Regions from separate parts of the Homo sapiens genome. Here regions 2, 3, 4, 5 and 6 are each linked to region 1. The links are contacts of gene promoters, found by promoter capture Hi-C in blood cells and fetal thymus (Javierre and others, 2016). All regions are on one chromosome and are shown on one strand. The core of a region is centred on a gene start or on the middle of the fragment in contact, and the rest is flanking DNA. Distances in the headings are between cores, read along the strand shown. Region 1 holds the start of RPTOR (regulatory associated protein of MTOR complex 1). Region 2 holds the start of CHMP6 (charged multivesicular body protein 6). Region 3 overlaps RPTOR (regulatory associated protein of MTOR complex 1). Region 4 overlaps RPTOR (regulatory associated protein of MTOR complex 1). Region 5 overlaps RPTOR (regulatory associated protein of MTOR complex 1). Region 6 overlaps RPTOR (regulatory associated protein of MTOR complex 1).

Region 1 (3,063 bases), core at 296-2,795:
AGAAATCCTGTTTCCAAGTTACAGCAACAGGACACTACATAAAAGGAGGAAAATCTAGCTTCAAGAGAAATTGTTTAGAAGACTAGAATGAAGTTCAGTGTAACTTTATAATAACTTTGCACTAATTTGTTACTAGTTGAACATTTTCCAGTAATCTCATTTCCTAGCATAGTATATCAGACTTCTGCACTTCACCCAGCTTGGATATTTTAAAAAGTAGACTAATCATGTGGGTATAAAGATTATATCGCACGTTGTCCTTCCTCTAAGTGTTTACAGAACTAAGTAGTATGCCAAAGAGCATGTAAATACTCGCAATGCTCTATTTTCAAATTTGCTTAACTTTTATTATCTGAATTAGAACTTAGTTGGAATTGAATTAACACTACCCAGTGAATAATGACTAACCAAAACAGCATTTTCCATTTTCAACCAAAAACTGCAGTCTGAAATGGCTTTTGCTTTCTAGTTGACTTACAACGTGTGGCTAGGGGGAAATGTCGGCGCTTTCCCAAGGACACTTTTCGGGCTGTAAACTTTCTTTGTTGGGGAAACTACCAAGTTCAAGGGGTGCCTTCAGAATCCACTTACCCGATCCTTCATCCTCCAGCTCTGAGCTAAGGATTTGGAGCCTTCAATTTTCTCACAGTGCCTCTTTTTCATAAAAGCCAAAGGTAGGTTCCAGTCTGTAAGATCAGCCTCATCTTCCTCCCCCAGGCCCAGAAGAGGCGATTGCAGCATTTCGGACTCCATCAGTGGGGGAGGGGGTGGGGGAGTCCTTGGCAGCAAGCGCTCGAGAACCTCCAGCCTTAAAAACTAGCGTGTACCAGAATTGGTGAAATAAGAAACAAAAACGGGAAATCGAAAACCAAATGGATAAAGAGTGCGGAGACCCTTACTCAGGCAAAAGTCTGAGATCCTTATCTCTAACTCTGAGCGGGAAGTGGGGAGGTGGGGGCCGCTAGGAAATGGGGCAGCCCAAGAAGCTCCGCAGACACACACCACCCCAGGTCCCAAGCCACTGGCTGCTCCTGAGGCTGTACGTTTCCAGAGGGGCTGCGAGGGGAGCTGCCAAAAGCGTAAGAGACTTCAGGCCTCACGATGACCCTGCTCTCGGCCTCCACCGCCTCAGCAGTTCCGAAGACAGGCAGGCCGCTCTTGGTGCCGGTTCGCCCACTGGGCCGACTGGGCTGAGGTCTCCGGCCAAGGGATCGGGTTCAAAGGGCCCTGGGTCTCCTCCAGCCACTCTCAGCCCTGCGGGTCCCGCACTCGTCTGAGCTGCTGCAACCAGAGCCACGACCGGCCCATCGTGCTCGCCTGCACCCGGTTCCTCAACCTCAGGTCCGCGCGGCCTGGCTGGTCCTGGCCTTCAGCCCCGAGGCTCTCTCCTGCCTGAGAACGAGTCCTGAGAAACGGGCGACACGGAACCACGGAGGAAAGGGACAATGTGGGCTTATTGGGTCATGGGAGCTTTGCCCTCTGGTTTGGAGCTACAGTGAAACTCATCTCATCAGCCCATCAAGGAGGACGCCATATTGCCAGGACCCAGAATGCACCGCGGCCTACGGCGTGGCCGACAGACCAAACCTCCTCAGAGCGGTCTCTCCCCGCCACCCAGCATGCAGCGAAGGAGAAAGAGTCCCCGACCCCGTTACCTCGGTTACCATAATTCCGTTTTCCCCAGTTAATCGCCATTTGTTCAGTAGAGGCGTGTTATTAAAGTCAATCCTACAAATGAAACTGTCGGTTTAATTTATTTTTTCAAAAACATTGTCATTATAAATGAAGTTACATGCTCCTGAAATTAAAGGAATCAACCGCCTTGTTTCTTCCAGATTTTGAAAAAGCGGCAAAAGCTTCACTGATAATATTAGAAAATATTAAAAAGCACTGATAATATTAGAAAATATAGTACTTTTTTTTTTGGAGTGTAGTGTCCTCCACAGTGTCAATCAGATTTTCTCTTTAATTTTTTCATAGAGAACCAAGTGAAAGGCCGGGCGCCGTGGCTCACGCCTGTAATCCCAGCACTTTGGGAGGCCGAAGCGGGCAGATCACGAGGTCAAGAGATCGAGACCAGCCTGGCCAACATGGTGAAACCCCGTCCCTACTAAAAATACACAAATTAGCTGGGCGTGGTGGTGCGCGCCTGTAATCCCAGCTACTCAGGAGGCTGAGGCAGGAGAATTGCTTGAACCCGGGAGGCGGAGGTTGCAGTGGGCCAAGATCGTGCCACTGCACTCCAGCCTGGGAGACAGAGCAAGACTCTTCAGATGAAGAAGGGTCTGAAGCAACAGAAGAAGAGTCTGGAGCAAGATTCGATGAAAAAAAATTTCATCTAATACAATTTTTTGTTTAATCTGTTTCGTTTTCTGAGCAGTTTATCCTTTTTAAATTTTTTTCCCACTTCTTGGTAGCAGTAGTTTATTCTTATTTTGATATAGCTTCACGTGCAGACATCTAAAACTACATGTCTGTGCGTGGAGGCAAGCCTCTTGTGTGACTCTCTTTTTCAATTCAGGAAATTTGGCTCATTTACAATGTATAGAGAACTGTGTAAGGTGGACTATAAAACCAAATGTAGGCAGGGCACCGTGGCTCACGCCTATAATCCTAGCCCTTTGGGAAGCCGAGGAGGGTGGATCACGAGTTCAGGAGTTCGAGACCAGCCTGGCCAACATGGTGAAACGCCGTCTCTAATAAAAATACAAAAATTAGCTGGGCGTGGTGGCGTGCGTCTGTAGTCTCAGCTGCTCGGGAGGCTGAGGCAGGAGAAGAGCTGGAACCTGGGAGGCAGAGGTTGCAGTGAGCCGAGATTACACCACTGCATTCCAGCCTGGGTGACAGAGTGAGATTCCATCTCAAAAATAAATAAATAAATAAATAAATAAATAAGAATAAAACGAGGCCAGGCGTGGTGGTGCACGCCTGTAATCCCAGCACTTTGGGAGGCTGAGGTGGGTGGATCATGAGGTCAGGAGTTCAAGACCATCCTGGCCAAGATGGTCTTGATCTCTCAGGATGGTTTTCCGGGGCTTAGACACATGTGGCCATCCATATCAA
Region 2 (3,063 bases), core at 264-2,763, 450 kb before region 1:
CTGCCCCCCTGTAAAACAAGGTCTCAGTGGAGGGTCACAGGCCACGTGGGGAACACCTGTTATCCTAGAAAAACAGAAAAAAAAAAGCAATCATTTGTGCTAGTGTGTGCTAAGGATGCTGTTCCCAAGCACCCAAAATCCCAGGGAGACCTACGGCAGCCCGCAACACGGGTCTGCACAGCCGAGAGCCCACAGTGACCCTTGGCAAGTGGAAAGCTGTGCTTGAAGAGAAACCGGAGCTGAGTCCTTAAAGAGAGGGGAGGGAGTGCCTTGGGGCTGGCAGGGTAGGTGGAAGGTGGACGATGGAGGCTGGGTCCAGCTGTCTTGCAGGCAGCTCGGGACGGTGCCCAGCGCTGTGCCCATCTTCTCTAGGGACAAATGTGCCCGTTGTTTCTTTTCACAGCTTATGGACTCAGATGCCAACGTAAGATTCCCTCTTTCATTTACATTCGCTTCTCTTTTAGTATAAAATTAACCTATTTCTGTTGCACAAAATTTAGAAAAGAAAGCATCCGAAAAAGCTAGCCCTGCTTTCATTTCGGGGTCTCTTTCGTGACACGTTTATCTCGTTACAAAAATGGACTATTCTTAACCCGCCCTGTCCCTGACATGCCAGGCGATTCCTCCTCCTACAGAAGCTAACTTTCACATGGGAAAAGGCACCACCACCGGCCCGGCTGTGCCCCGGGGGGTCAGTCTGGAGTCGCCGCAAACAAACGCGCCAAACACGGTGGTCCCGTACCCAGGCGCTGCGGAAGCCCGGCAGGACCCCGGCAGGACCCCGGCAGGCGTTCGGCGCACCTGTCGGCCGCTCCTCGGACCAGGGCAGACTTCCTTCCAGTCCTGGCCTGGATGGGGTGAGGGAGAGGGGATGCCCCGCGCTGCCTCGCGAAGCCGGCAGCACCGCCGGGGCTCCGGCCCAGGGCACCAGGAGGCAAATGAGCCGCGGGACGGGGGCGGGGGCAGCGACTCCGGGAGAGCCGGGACCTGCTCCCGCGGGCCCAGAGCCAGGGAAAGCCCAGCGCCGCGCGGACCCCACGGACGGGCCGCCAGGCTGTGGCCGAGCCCCGAACGCCGGCGTCGAATCCCGCAGTCACCAGCCGCGCCCACCCCGGCGGGGCTCGCAGAGGCGGACGCGCGGGCCCCGGGGAAGACGGCAGCCACGGCGCCGCGCAGGAGACCCCGGCCCGAGGCCCCGCGGGCGAGGAGGGACGCAGGGCGGAGAGACCGAGGGGCCCGGCTGCGCGCTGCGCCTCAGTTTCCCCATCCGAACGCGGGGGGCCGAGGGCGCGGGGCTCTTCCGGCCCCGCCGCCCGCCCCGGCCCCGTCGCCTGTCCCGGCCCCAGCCCTGACCCCGGGCCCGGGCCCTCACCAGGATGGCCTTGTCCTGCTCCGTGACGCGGCTCTGCTTCTTGCGGCCGAACAGGTTACCCATGGCGGCGCCCGCCCCTGGCCCGGGACCCACCAAGTCCAATCGCCACCGCCGCCCCGCGGCCACCGTAGCTCGGGTCCTCCCGCTACGGCGGCCGCGCCGGGCCAGGCGCCGCGGAACGCGAAGGCCGAGCGCCGCCTCCGGCCGCGCGCCGTTGCCGCGGGTTCGAAACCACAGCCCGCCGGTCTCGGCGACCGCCGCGAACACCGCGGCCTCCTTGGACCGGTACGGAGAAGTGGCACGGATACCTGGATGTTAGGGCCCGCGATGTTCGGGCCCGGGATGTTCTAAATGACGTGTTTCCGTGCACCCTTCCTGTGCAGGTGAAGGCAAAAATTTCTTATCTCCTAATTAGGTGGGATCCTTTTAGATTAACATAATTCAGTCTCCCCAGGCTTTCAGGAATCTTGTGCAGGAATCACTGTCCCACTGGCTCTGAACACAAAATGCCGCATTAATGATGTGATATCCAACGTTTTGCACTTTTTTTTTTTTTTTTTTTTTTAGATGGAGTCCTGCTCTGTCGCCCAGGGTGGAGTGCAGGGGCGCTATCTCGGCTCACTACAAACTCTGCCTCCCGGGTTCAAGTGATTTTCCTGCTTCAGCCTCCTGAGTAGCTGGGACTACAGGTGCCTGCTGCCACACCCGGCTAATGTTTGTTAGTAGAGACGGGGTTTCACCATATTGGCCAGGCTGGCCTTGAGCTCCTGACCTTCTGATCCACCCACCTCGGGCTCCCAAAGTGCTGGGATGACAGGCGTGAGCCGCCGCACCCGGCCCGCTTTGCACTTTAAAATGTTCCCTGAAATGCGACCAGCAGCGCCCTCCACCCAGCCTTTCAGCCCTGGGATCTTCCCTCTTCCACTGCGCTGCTCCCTGTCTGTAGATCAGTGCCAGGAGGAGACCAGCATGGCTGGGCTCAGCTTCTCCTTCCAAGGAATCGTGGCTGCGTCCCCCACAGAAGCATTCTTCCCTGGGGGGCTAAGAAACACATGAATGGGGATAAAGGGTAAAAGGGAGAAGCCACCCCGGTTCCCGCCTGAGTATCCTGACTGTGGTTCCTGAGCATTCACTAAGTGTCAAAGAAAAGCACTCAGCTGAGGATGGCTTGAGGCCAGGAGTTCAAGACCAGCCTGGCAACATAGCAAGACCCCCGTCTCTACAAAAAATATAACAAATAACATCAAAAGGAGAATAATTATCACCTGTTCCAAACCTCTGGACTCCAGAACCTTCACTGAGGTGAGGGGGCCCCTGAATTTTTGTGGGGTTCATCTCCCACCCTCTGATTTGTCTCACCAAGACATCTGAAGTACTTTTTTCCTTGGTGTCCATGGGGACGTTGAGGAAAAAAAAAAAAAAGACTTGCTACTCCCTGCTCCTCATGAAGGGGGAAGGAAGAGCTGGGTAGAGGAAGGCGTGATCCTTGGCTAGGGATCCCCCCACCGCCTGTGCCCACAAACCTAGGTGAGGACAGGGATTTTTGTTTTCCTGCCCAAATGTTGCATTTCCAAAGACCACCCTGGCCTGCCACGCCCCCATCCTGTCCCTATAAAATCCCCGAGACTCTAGCAGACTCCATCTGGCCAGGTGTGGTGGCTCACGCCTGTAATACCAGCACTTTGGGAGGC
Region 3 (3,063 bases), core at 188-2,687, 380 kb before region 1:
TCTGAAGTTTGGAAAAGGTCTCTAATGTTAAAGACACTCCTAAGACTGCAGTTGCTATCAGGAGTTACAGACGACGCCGACCACAACACGGCGCTCTTTTCCATCATGACACCCAGAGCCTGTTGTTTCAACGACAACCAAGTGAGCATTTGTTTTCAAATACTTGGCAGGGGCAGAGGAAGACAATCATTTACTCATTCAGCAACCGTTTCCTGATCAACCTCCTGTGTGATGGCAGCTCCTACATGGATCCCCTTGGACTAATCTCCTCTGCAGTGTCCACACAGCAGGACCTGCTGGCAGGGCCAGACCACAAGGCTGACACCCTCCAGCTCCTCCGTGCGGGCGGGAATTCTCAGATGTGCAAATGGAGGAGATGAGGGCAGGCGGAGGAGGGGCTGCTAATCTGAAGAAAGGGAGAGGAGACGCTGGCTTGGGGCTTGCACACACCGGAACAAATAGACACACACACACAGACACACAGAAACACACAGACACACACACGAGATACACATACACACATACAGAGATACACACACACATCACACAGACAGACACAGGGATACACACACACACATAGAGACAGACAGACAGACAGACAGACAGACACACACACGGCCTTCCACATGCCTCTGGGGAACTTCCTCCTGCAATCAGCTGCTGTGTACTTAAAAATGCTTAGGAAAGGAAAGCAAATCCTTTGGGGAAAAGTCAAATTCATTTTTAAGTTTAAGAGCAATGAGTTTTGGATTATCTATGCCATTCCTCTTTCATCATAGGATAGATGACTGAGAATAGGCATTTTTCAAGGACTTCAAGAAAAGCCTCTCGTTATCACACCAAGAAATTACCAACATGTACAGCCACTGCCATCCCAGCAAGAGCGAAGACCAGACCATGTGGGTTTCTTAGTCGCCTGACCTTGTCTGCCTTAAGCACGAGACCGCATCAAGGACACCAAGCTTGTTAACATTAGACTAAATTCCATTGACTTTTCAACAGACTGGGCCGCAGTTCTAGAGGACGGCCTGGCACCCCTGGCACAGTGTCCAGCCACCTCCCAGCTCTGGCTCACTCAGAGTTTGGGTGGCTCCTGCTTCCTGCATCCAATTCCAGGATTTGTGTATGCTTTCCTTTCCTAACCAGAAGCCTCCTAGTGATGGGAAGGGGCACTTCCCTCTGTCTGCAGGGGCCGCCACCCTCATGCCACCCGCAGGTAAGCAGCGGTGAGCCCAGCAGGTGGGCCTGGTGAGGGGCTTCTGACTAGGACTGAATCCACCAGCCTCAATGATCTCCTGGGGTTTGTTTCTTTGATTCTTTTCCCCCGACTCTAAAGGTGCTTCGTGCTTAGTGTAGAAACTGCAGAAGAGGCACAAAAGAAGCCCAATTCAGTGCAGTCGTGGGTGGCGCCATTTGCGAATCTCTAGTTAGGAGCGGGCTCTGCTGGTCTCCGTCGTATGCACATCTGTGTCTGTATGAGAAGCACGGCTGTGATTGTTCTGTAAATCTGGCTTCTTGGTCTGCATTTTGCATTTTTTCTTTTTAAGGAATGTTGTCATGAGCGCTTCCTTAGGACACTATTTTTAATGTTTAACTTTTCAGTAGCTCCAATAATATCTCATCAAATATTTCATAACTTTTTAACTATTCACCCTCTGTGGACATTTAAGTGAATCTCAATTTTCGTTCTTAGAAACAACACGGAAGTCATCTACATCTCTGATTATTTTCTCAAGACAGTATTTTAGCAGATTCATGACTGGGTCAAAGGGAACGGCTATTTAAGGCGTTTGATGCTTCCCGGCAAGACGCTTTCTAGAACAGCCAGGCCACTGTCCACCCAGGTTCATGTGAGAAGAGGGAGGCGAACTCCTCTCTCTTTGCAGTAAAGGGGCTCCGTAGTTCAAGCTTCATGGCTTGCCTGCCTCAGGGGCTGCCTGATGGTTCTGTTTTTATGAACAGAAATCAGCATTCACTATGAAGACAGGACCACAGGGACTGAGCTGTCATGGGGTCCAAATACCATTCACAGAGATGACTAAGACGCAAGCTTGATATACAATCGAGAATAAGCTGAGAGTTTCAGCTTTCAATTATATATGAGGGAAGAGGCAGGTTTGCTCAGAATGCACTTTAGATTTATAGAAAATCTCCACGAGTCCCTGCTGGGCCCTGGCAGAGAGATGAGCACTGGGACTGTGCTGACAAAGCAGCTCCCGCCCCATTCCTCGAAGAGGCCGAGAGCCGCCGCCCTGCCCCAGCCTGCAGGAACACAGCCACTGCGTCCACAGCACACGGCGCTTGTTAGGGCTGTGTCAGGGTTGAGCCTCAGAGATGGTCTTGTGGTGTAACCCCAAATGCGCTAGGATTGGCTGCAGCAGGCTGCGTCTAACAGTCCCCAGACCTCGGAGCCACGCAAGCGTGGCCTTGGGATGGGCCTCGAGTGATCCTCACCATTAGGGAGTGGGAAGGCCTGTGGTGACCCTGTCAGTTAAGGCAAAGTGACACCTGTCACACTGGGAAGCTCCAGCGAGGCAGGTTTTCTCTTTTCGTTTGGCGACAGGAAGGTAAGTGAAGTTTGTTTCTTCTGCGGTTCTACCTCAACCGTGACCATCACTACCACGACCACAATGGGACGCTCCCACAGCCACAAGCCTTGAGCGTTTATGCTCAAAGAAGTGGGACAGACACATGTTCGCTAGGACTCTACTCTGAACCCCACACCCCGGGCGCACCTTCATGACGGGCTGGGCAAAATAGCGGGCGCTCCAGTCGCAGAACCCCGTCTGCACCGTGGCGGAGATGAAACTTTTGTGTCCAGCAGCATCGTCCGCGTCGTCCGCAGTCTTCAGGGTTTAAGCAGGAGGGTTGGAAGGAAAAAGAAACACCAGTCAGTCATGCCACTCCTGAGCTCAAAAGAGCTGCAGCTGGGGACAAAGGCGCTGCCGGGAGCACCGGGCTGCCCCTAAGGACGGCACTTCTGTGCTCTGCTCACTTCCGTATCCTGGTGACCAAGAACCCCTGAACGTCTGGCCAGGGATTGAGGGGCCCGGGCTGTGAAGT
Region 4 (3,063 bases), core at 152-2,651, 330 kb before region 1:
CAGGTTCTCCCTCTTACTAGTCAGGGACCCAGGTAAAGTTTTAAAAATCTGTGCTCAGCTGGGCGTGGTGGCTCATGCCTATAATCCCAGCACTTTGGGAGGCTGAGACAGGCGGGTCACAAGGTCAGGAGTTCGAGACCAGCCTGGCCAATATGGTGAAATCCTGTCTCTACTAAAAAATACAAAAATTAGCAGGGTGTGGTGGTGCGTGCCTGTAGTCCCAGCTACTCGGGAGGCTGAGGCAGGAGAATCGCTGGAACCTGGGAGGCGGAGGCTGTAGTGAGCTGAGATCGCACCACTGCATTCCAGCCTGGGCGACAGAGCAAGACTACGTCTCAAAAAAAAAAAATCTGTGCTCAGGTCGTGGAGTCAGAGATGAAACCACGCATGTGAAAGCAGTCTGAAACTGCAGTGCGATGTACAAATCATGGATGCTGTGTTTCTTGGAGAGGGACCCACAGAGCATGGGTTTCTAGGATCAATACCTAGAAACTGAGCAGTGACAGACACTGCATCGACAGAGTGAGGCGTGCGTTCTGCCAGCTCCCAGCATGCTCCTTTCCAGAGGACGAAGGCCATGCAAGGACAGAGGGCCGGAATTTTAAGAACTGGATGCCTGAGGATCAAGAAGAGAACGGCTCTCCAGTGCAGCCCTGCACAGCTGGCCCTTTCCCACTGAGGCAGGAGCAGTTTTGCAGAGGGAATCTGCTGGTTATGCAGCCCAGAAGCCCCTAACCCCGCCATTTCTCAGGGGTGCTCTTACAATGAGGTGTTTCTGCCTCACATCAATACACTGATGAGGCGGGTTATGGGCTGGGCTGCTGGAATGAGAGCTGAGCACGATGGGGAGCGGGTGGTCAGGGAGCCAGGCGCCGGCCTCAGATTGCAAGCTGCTCCCCCGAGCTGAGGAGGCCAATTAAGCAGGCAGTTTTCAAGCAACAACTGGCTTTAGCTGAAGGTTTTGACAAATAAACTGAGATGCATCGACCGCCGTCCACGTAAAGACTCAGCCCAGAGGGCCAGGGCAACAGAAAAAGCACTGGGTTCTGAGAATGAAGGCACCTTCCTTTGTTTTAACCACAGGTTCCACAAGTCAAATCGAAGCCCACACATTCACGGTGAAGCTCCTCAAACATGTCTCACGAGAGTGTAATGAAGCATCACTGACTCAAATCTCACTAATTCTGAATTTGAGGCATGCAAATCAGGGTGGGAGAACTTAGATGTGCCCTTGGTATCGGAGTCTGGCAACTATGTGGTGTATACTACCAGATGTCTGTTCTGATACGGTCATTATGCCAGGTGGGAACCACGGATGATGATGCCTTTTCATACCTTCATTTTCAGCGCTCGGCAGGGGTCATTTACATATCTGTTTAATACACACATTTTCACTAACTCAAACCGCCCCCACCCTCCCCGCAGGCAGGAACCTGGGAGCTCCCACTTCGCTGGCTAGGGGGACTGGGGTGGACTCTCTCGGCTGCTGCTCACTCGCCCAAATTACAAGCACACTTAGACCAAGGGCCTCGTTAAACAGAAGAGGAAACAAGACTTGAAACCACACACGCGCAGAACGGCAGCCAGCAGGCAACACACACTCCCTGCGTGGCACGGGCTCAGTGGGAAGACCCAGCAGGCGACACACACACATCCTGGGCGGCACGGGCTCGGTGGGAAGACCCAGCAGGCGACACACACACCCTGCATGGCACGGGCTCGGTGGAAGACCCGGCAGGCGACACACACACCCTGAGTGGCACGGGCTCGGTGGGAAGACCCGGCAGGCGACACACACACCCTGCATGGCACAGGCTCGGTGGAAAACCCAGCAGGCGACACACACACCCTGTGTGGCACGGGCTCGGTGGAAGACCCGGCAGGCGACACACACACCCTGTGTGGCACGGGCTCGGTGGAAGACCCGGCAGGCGACACACACACCCTGCGTGGCACGGGCTCGGTGGAAGACCCGGCAGGCGACACACACATCCTGGGTGGAGGGGCTTGGTGGAAGACCCGGCAGGCGACACACACACCCTGCGTGGCACGGGCTCGGTGTGAAGACCCAGCAGGCGACACACACATCCTGGGCGGAGGGGCTTGGTGGAAGACCCGGCAGGCGACACACACACCCTGCGTGGCACAGGCTCGGTGGGAAGACACGGCAGGCGACACACACACCCTGCGTGGCACGGGCTCGGTGGGAAGACACGGCAGGCGACACACACACCCTGCGTGGCACGGGCTCGGTGGGAAGACACGGCAGGCGACACACACACCCTGCGTGGCACGGGCTCGGTGGGAAGACACGGCAGGCGACACACACACCCTGCGTGGCACGGGCTCGGTGGAAGACCCGGCAGGCGACACACACACCCTGCGTGGCACGGGCTCGGTGTGAAGACCCGGCAGGCGACACACACACCCTGCGTGGCACGGGCTCGGTGGAAGACCCGGCAGGCGACACACACACCCTGCGTGGCACGGGTTCGGTGGGAAGACACGGCAGGCGACACACACACCCTGCGTGGCACGGGCTCGGTGGAAGACCCGGCAGGTGACACACACATCCTGGGCAGCACGGGCTCGGTGGAAGACCCGGCAGGTGACACACACACCCTGCGTGGCACGGGCTCGGTGTGAAGACCCAGCAGGTGACACACACATCCTGGGCGGCACGGGCTCGGTGGAAGACCTGGCAGGTGACACACACACCCTGCGTGGCATGGGCTCGGTGTGAAGACCCAGCAGGTGACACACACATCCTGGGCGGCACGGGCTCGGTGGAAGACCTGGCAGGTGACACACACACCCTGCGTGGCACGGGCTCGGTGTGAAGACCCAGCAGGTGACACACACATCCTGGGCGGCACGGGCTCGGTGGGAAGACCCGGCAGGCGACACACACACCCTGCGTGGCACAGGCTCGGTGTGAAGACCCGGCAGGCGACACACACACCCTGCGTGGCACGGGCTCGGTGGAAGACCCGGCAGGCGACACACACATCCTGGGCGGAGGGGCTTGGTGGAAGACCCGGCAGAGACTCGGGGCTCAGATGA
Region 5 (3,063 bases), core at 325-2,824, 310 kb before region 1:
TCCACAGCCAGGGGTTTCTGCTGTGTCCTTATCTCAAAGCTGCTGGAATTTCAAAGATATCCTAAAGGTATCACCTTCCAATAAGTGAGGTCCCCTGTAACCAAGACAGGAGGTGGTGGTGGGACCTAGGCCTGGGTCCCTTCCCTGTGAAAGGCCACATTTAACAAGGTATGAGCAGTTTCTCTGGTTCGGGTGGCTGGGCCCTCACCTGAGAGGCAAAATCTGTACCTGTAAAAATACCTCGTTTATCCAGCCTCGATTCATGTATTAGGCAAATTTCCAATGAGCAGAAGCTTAATTCTTTAAAGGGAAGAAACTGGTTTTAAAAAATTAACCTTAAAAATGAAACTCTTTCTAAACTGTTATGAATACATGCTTCCTGTCTTCTTAGAGTGCACGCAATACCACGCAGGCCTTTCCAGGATGACTAAGCGACACCACCACGCACACACCAAGTGACCGAGTCACGCCAGCCTTCCTCCGATGACTCAGGCCCTGACTCTGTTACAAGCTATTTGTGGCCTCAGGCACCTGGAGTGAAAATGGCCCAGTGGTGAGTGCTGAATGATTCTTCCAAGTTTTGGATGTTTTCTCTCGTCCTTCAGTGCTGGACTATCAATTACCACTCTTTGTCAACATTATCTGATGAAAATACTTAAATACACCAAACCCAGGTACTCACCACCCAGCTAGTGACAGCGGTTCCGCACCCACCGCCCCACCGCACCGCTCCCAAGCACAGTAAATTAAGGCTCATATGTCATGTGATTTCATTGGTGAATATTCAGTGTCTATCTCTAAAAAATTAGGTCTCTTTTATAAAAACATGATCCAGTTACCACACCCAAGAAAAACGAACAATGATTCTTGAATAACATAAATCCAGCACCTGTAAAATTTCTAATTGTTTTATGAGTATTCATTTTTGGAACTTCAACAGAACCAAGTAAGGTTTACTGTACATGGCAGCTGGCCATAGGTCTCTCGAGTTTCCTTGACTCTGTGGTTCCCTCTCAGCCTCCTTTTACTTTCCCTGTGAGTTATTTGTTAAACGCACGTCGCTTCTTGATCCTGCCTCTGCCAGGGTGTTTTTAGTGGCCATTACTACTCTGCTATAGAATGAGGAACCAGAAGAGCGTTTCCGAATTGTGCCTGCCATGATGGTGAGCAGACAGTGCTGAGGATCCAGACTCCTCCTGGGGGAAGCAGCACCACGAGGTGGGTGCTGCGTCAGGCTCAGGGGCGCCCTGCTCCTCCGCAGCGCTGGGGGCGGCTCAGGAAAAGGTGACCGGCCGACAACACACTCACTCCTATGTCTAACATCAGACATAAAGAGGGGCGACAACCCCAGACCCCCAAACGCCAGGCAGCACTGCAGGCTGCACGGGTACAGAGTGGGCTCCTTGAGGGCCTCAGGAGTGACAGGACACCAACACGGTGGACACACTCGCCCTGGGTCTCACGGCTGGGGGTGGCTCTGGATCATGAAATACGTGCACAGACTGAAACACGGAGCCTAATCTCTGTCCCACCTCCCTCAGCCCCCAGGTTAATGCGGAAGGCACGCACCAGGCTCACTGCCCAGGGACCCAGGTCCAAAAATCTTCCAAGCAAGTCCAATGCTCTCAGCCGGTGCACTTGGCTTAACAGCACCTGGAAGAACAAGAAGAAAATGGTATCACTGCAAACCATACTGGTGTGCAACCCCGAAACGCTGCTGCATGAGCTGCCAGCTTTGGAGCGGTCTGACCACAGTTCAGATCTGTCTGCTGCTTCAGTTACCTAGAGCTGGTGCTCCTTTCCTTACAAGTTCATGCTTTTAGACAGGTGAAGAAAACACGCTTTATGCCTTTATTACACAGATAAAAGATGCTCAATGTAGAAAATACTAGAACAAACATGCTTTAATTGCATTTAAAAAGCTAACCCACTGGTGACATTTAGGTATATGAACTCAGACATTGTTCTTTATGTCCACACTTCTCTTACTGATCTTGAACTAGATAATATGTGATTCTATTTCTCAGCTCCTTTTTAAACTAAACAATGCACTGTGAACATTGTTCATATCAGTAGGTATGTACTGACCATATTATTCCCAAAGGCGGCACAGTACTTCCGTTATGCAAATGTACACAATTCTTTTAAACAACTTCCCCAGTGATAGATATTTAAATTATCATCAAAATGTTCCTACTTTTACCATTTTTATTTATTTATTTTTGAGATAGGGTCTTGCTCTGTTGCCCAAGCTAGAGTATAGATGCCAGATCATGGCTCACTGCAGCCTCAACCTCCTGGACTCAAGTGATCCTCCCACCTCAAACCCTGAGTAGCTAGGACCGCAGGTATGTACCACCATGCCTGGTTAATTTTTGTATTTTTTATAGAGATGGGGGTCTCACTACATTGCCCATGCAGGTCTTGAACTTCTGGCTCAAGCAACCCTCCCGCTTCAGCCTCCCGAAGTGTAGGGATTACAGGCGTGGGCCATCATGCCTGGCCAAAATGCTGCTCTGATAAAGAAGATTGTGATCAATATCCTAATGGGTACATCGGCACATGTACATGATTCTTTTCCACTAAGATAAATGTGAGTATTAAAAAGGTAAGGTCGGAGCATATATACTTAAGTTACCAAATGACCCTGAGGCTGAACCCACTCACACTCTCGACGGCACGCACGTGGGCACCAGCTTCCTGCTGCCTGAGCTGGTCACCCAGCAGCGCTCACTGCGGTGTGACTCTGGGCAAGTTAACGTCGCTGAGCCTTGATTTATTAATTCATAAAACACATATAACACAACACCTGCCCACAAGGGTTTCATTAAATTAAATAATAAATTTAAAGCTTGTGGGACAATACTAGCCCATATTACACTATTATTAGCCAAAAGGACAGGTGAAAATACATCCTTTTCATCTGGATTTCTTGGATTTCAAGGGGAGTACATTTTGCAGGTTGATGGGCCATTTCCCCAGTAAACTTGCCCTGCATGCGTTTAGTTTTCTACTTCAAAATGTGGCTTTTTCTTATTGACATGTCAGAGTTCTTTATAAGTT
Region 6 (3,063 bases), core at 406-2,905, 270 kb before region 1:
TCACAAGCACAGACAGACCATTTGCCCGCAGGCTGTTTGCAAACCAGGACTAAACACATCCCTAACGTGAGCCCACGTATCCTGAATCGACTGAAGCTCATAGAGCCCCTGCTGTTCCCGAGTCTGTGACCACTGGTTAACAGAAAGCTGCATTCTGAGCAGCAAAGAGCTTCCCACGAGGTCCCACACCCCAGCACTGTCACTGGATGGCCAAGCCATCAAGATAAACGGAGGCCAGATAGGACCAGTGTGTACTTAGTTGTGTTTTTACAAATTGGTATCTTGTGATGATCACCAGTAAATAAATGCAAAGCTAGACTCTCCCAACATGGTCCTGAAAATCCCACTGGTCTCTTCCCTAAGCTCATCGTGAAACCAGACAGAGTCATCTGCCCAGCCGACTTCAGACAGACCCAGAAATCATTCAAGTCGATGAACCAACCATCCAGTGAGCAAAAGCTGATGAGGCTTCTTGATCCAGCAGGCCTGGTCCTACTGGGGGTGACAAGGTGGAACCGAGTCCAGCATCCCTCACTTTTCACGTCACATAAAATTAAATCCTTGCAGAAACGATTTGTTTCTGATTTCCTTTCTGTACCTGATCCTAACCAATGCTGAGTCTTGCCCAACTCGGGAGGCCACTGAGATCACGAGGGGACCACAGAAGAAGCCTATTGGTGTATGTTGTCCATGTCAGACCATGTTTCATTCTAGAAGTTTCTCTGAACCCTCAAAGGGTTAATGATCAAGGTGGCTCTTTTAAAATTTAAATTCAGAGTGTTAATCAAGGACTTCTATGTGAAAACTGTAAAAAGCTACAGTTCAGGAAAAGACTCCTGAATTGGGAGACAAGAAAACTCAAGCGCTGGTCCCAGCCGTGCTATGGCTGGATGACTCGTGGTACCTGTTTCTCTGCTGAGTCAACACAGCTGACCCTGATGCAAAATGGCGACTAAAATAAAACAGATGACACTCCAACAACAGATGTGGCAGATGCCGGGGTGGCCCCCCAACAGGGCCCGCGCCTCCTCAAACTCTCCTTCACTGCCATTGGCAGGAGGGTTTATCTCCACCTTCCCCCACACTTCCGGGCTCACCTGTGGCATGCGGTTTCTTGCCAGGATTTATCTTCCTTACTGCAACATCCAGGTCATCATGATGACCCCGGCCCTGCTAGACTCTGGCAGAACTTCAGCATCCACACCCCATTTGTGCAACCACTGTAGAGTGCCAGGCCAGCTCCGAAATGCCAAGCAGGTGCCCTTCCCCTAAGGCCCCTTCTTCTTCCCTGACACCCCTGGCTGTCCCCACCACCACCCTCTGCTGGGAACTTGTCACTCAACAAGAGCTGCTGTGTCTCCAGCCCTCGCCTTTGATTCTCCACCAGATGCCTGAGGGATCACAGCCCATCACAGTCACTCTCCCAAGGGTGCTCCCTCCCCCACCCCTTCTCCCGGACCTGCCCGGCTCCCTGTCATTTGCCCCATCACTCTGCCTGCTCCCCACTTCCAGCATGAGGTGCCACCCACTCCTTGGGGCCCTGTCCCTCCCCGGTTCACTCACAGGTGCCCACGTGGCAGGTGCTTGCCTCCCAGTCTCTCCAGGTTCCTGCTCTCACCTGGATTCTCGGGGGCGCCTTCAGCTCCGTCTGCACTCAGGAGACGCAACACATGATCTCCTCCCCATGGGGTGGCCGCCTCACTGCCGTCCCTGGCCCCATCCATGCAGAGGACAAGGACAAGGGGCTGTGAGGTCATCAGGATGTCTCCCCTGCAGAACCCCCAGCCTTCCTTTTCCTTCACTTCCAGGCCTAAACTTGGGAGCCAGACAGACGGGGGCTTGAATTTGGCCAGAGACTGGCTCTGTGACTGTGGACTAGCTGCCCAGCCTCTCAGAGGCTTGGATTTTCTTCAGCATGAACATTTACACTACCTCCACCACCGCTGCCAGCTGGGCACTCATGCCGTGCCTCCCGCTGTGCGGCTCGGTGGACCCAGGCCCCCAAGTCACCCACCTGCCAAGTCCACCAAGACTTCCTTCCCAATGCCCACGCCAGGCAGGTCTTATGTTCACTTGCTTTTCAGATGGAGAAACTGAGGCTCTATGAGGGTGTGTCTTCCACTAGAGACAAGTGGCAGAAACCAGACCCAGACCCCGCAGCCGCCTCGCAGGAATGGGAGGACCAGGGATGGGCCGGGGAGACCACTGGCTGCTGGGGCTCAACATGCAGTGGCCGCTGGGGCCTTATGCCTGTCTACCCTGGGGAAAACCCATGTGGCCCTGAAGCTGGCACTAGCTAAGCTCTCCTTGGCCCCCGTAGGCTCCTCTTACCTGCCATGCGAAAGCTGGTTTCTGTCCTCACCGCCCTTCCAAGCCACCTCCTCCCAAGCCCCCTCACTCCAGTGGCTGGCCAGCCTTGCCTTTCTTCATTTGCTGAATCTGCAAATCCTGACTGTCTCTCCCCTGGCACCCGGCTCCTCCCTTAGTGACCTCTGGGAGCACTGCGTCGCCAGCTCTTTTCACACCCCAGGATCTGCTCCAGCGGCAGCCCTGCTCCTTCCAGGTCTCACGACAAGGCGCTTCCCTTCACCCTCGGCTTGCCTGGCATCACAGCTCAAGCGGAACGTGTGTAAAATCAAGTGCAATGCCTCCATCTTCTCCACTGCTGGTCCCCACTCCAAGAGTCCCTGTGGATTCGCGTTTCACTGAGGCTCGAAACCCCGGAGGCCCCAGGCCCTCAGCTGCTCTCTGGTCCTGCACTGGGGCCAGCCAGGCCTCCCAAAGATGCCTCTTCCCACCTCCTCTGCGGCACCCTGCAGCCAGGCCTGCCAGGCGTCCAGACAGCATTCTCGGGCCAGGCCCTTCTGCCCTGGCTCACGCTACACAGGCTGATGGCTCTTAACACACAGCTGGGCCCCCAAACATACAAGGTTCTCCACTGATCATTGTGGTGGTTTTCCATTACTTTTTAGCTACTCAAACAAAATCTTATGCAGGACAAAGGAAAGCAAAACTCCTCTGGCTGGAGGAGTGAGGGCCAAGAGCCCAGTGGCTCTCCGACTG

What was found. The method cuts DNA at HindIII sites, captures the fragments that hold promoters and counts their contacts. A CHiCAGO score of 5 or more calls a contact.
Region 2: a contact is called between the fragment with the promoter of CHMP6 here and the fragment with the promoter of RPTOR in region 1, in 3 of 17 cell types (naive CD4 T cells, megakaryocytes and activated CD4 T cells). The highest score is 5.4, in naive CD4 T cells.
Region 3: a contact is called between a fragment that was not itself captured here and the fragment with the promoter of RPTOR in region 1, in 8 of 17 cell types (activated CD4 T cells, total CD4 T cells, naive CD4 T cells and 5 more). The highest score is 10.1, in activated CD4 T cells.
Region 4: a fragment that was not itself captured here is called in contact with the fragment with the promoter of RPTOR in region 1 in 7 of 17 cell types (naive CD8 T cells, naive CD4 T cells, total CD4 T cells and 4 more); the score reaches 8.1 in naive CD8 T cells.
Region 5: a fragment that was not itself captured here is called in contact with the fragment with the promoter of RPTOR in region 1 in 1 of 17 cell types (naive CD4 T cells); the score reaches 5.8 in naive CD4 T cells.
Region 6: a contact is called between a fragment that was not itself captured here and the fragment with the promoter of RPTOR in region 1, in 5 of 17 cell types (activated CD4 T cells, naive CD4 T cells, non-activated CD4 T cells and 2 more). The highest score is 6.6, in activated CD4 T cells.

The regions. Positions count from the first base shown.
Region 1 is chr17:80,543,320-80,546,382 of GRCh38, reverse strand. RPTOR (regulatory associated protein of MTOR complex 1) reads right to left here and starts at 1,545. Exons shown (of 34, transcript NM_020761.3): 1 at 592-1,545. The coding sequence starts at 753. RefSeq lists enhancers at 198-1,024, 952-1,051, 1,332-1,691, 1,025-1,851. The HindIII fragment of the contact is 2,750 bases long and covers 1-1,858 here.
Region 2 is chr17:80,990,291-80,993,353 of GRCh38, reverse strand. CHMP6 (charged multivesicular body protein 6) reads right to left here and starts at 1,513. Exons shown (of 8, transcript NM_024591.5): 1 at 1,373-1,513. The coding sequence starts at 1,435. RefSeq lists silencers at 811-1,000, 1,011-1,160, 1,291-1,620. The HindIII fragment of the contact is 12,121 bases long and covers 1-3,063 here.
Region 3 is chr17:80,925,153-80,928,215 of GRCh38, reverse strand. RPTOR (regulatory associated protein of MTOR complex 1) reads right to left here. Exons shown (of 34, transcript NM_020761.3): 24 at 2,736-2,846. Among named protein-coding and RNA genes, the nearest start is that of CHMP6, 65 kb to the left of the region's middle. The HindIII fragment of the contact is 946 bases long and covers 965-1,910 here.
Region 4 is chr17:80,875,639-80,878,701 of GRCh38, reverse strand. All of the region lies in intron 13 of RPTOR (regulatory associated protein of MTOR complex 1), which reads right to left. Among named protein-coding and RNA genes, the nearest start is that of CHMP6, 110 kb to the left of the region's middle. RefSeq lists enhancers at 1-110, 1,328-1,377. The HindIII fragment of the contact is 5,418 bases long and covers 1-3,063 here.
Region 5 is chr17:80,854,054-80,857,116 of GRCh38, reverse strand. It overlaps RPTOR (regulatory associated protein of MTOR complex 1), which reads right to left. Exons shown (of 34, transcript NM_020761.3): 12 at 1,570-1,653. Among named protein-coding and RNA genes, the nearest start is that of CHMP6, 140 kb to the left of the region's middle. RefSeq lists enhancers at 288-437, 1-511, 448-597, 334-628, 1-1,147 and 2 more. The HindIII fragment of the contact is 2,558 bases long and covers 296-2,853 here.
Region 6 is chr17:80,816,027-80,819,089 of GRCh38, reverse strand. The region is part of intron 7 of RPTOR (regulatory associated protein of MTOR complex 1); the gene reads right to left. Among named protein-coding and RNA genes, the nearest start is that of CHMP6, 170 kb to the left of the region's middle. The HindIII fragment of the contact is 7,384 bases long and covers 1-3,063 here.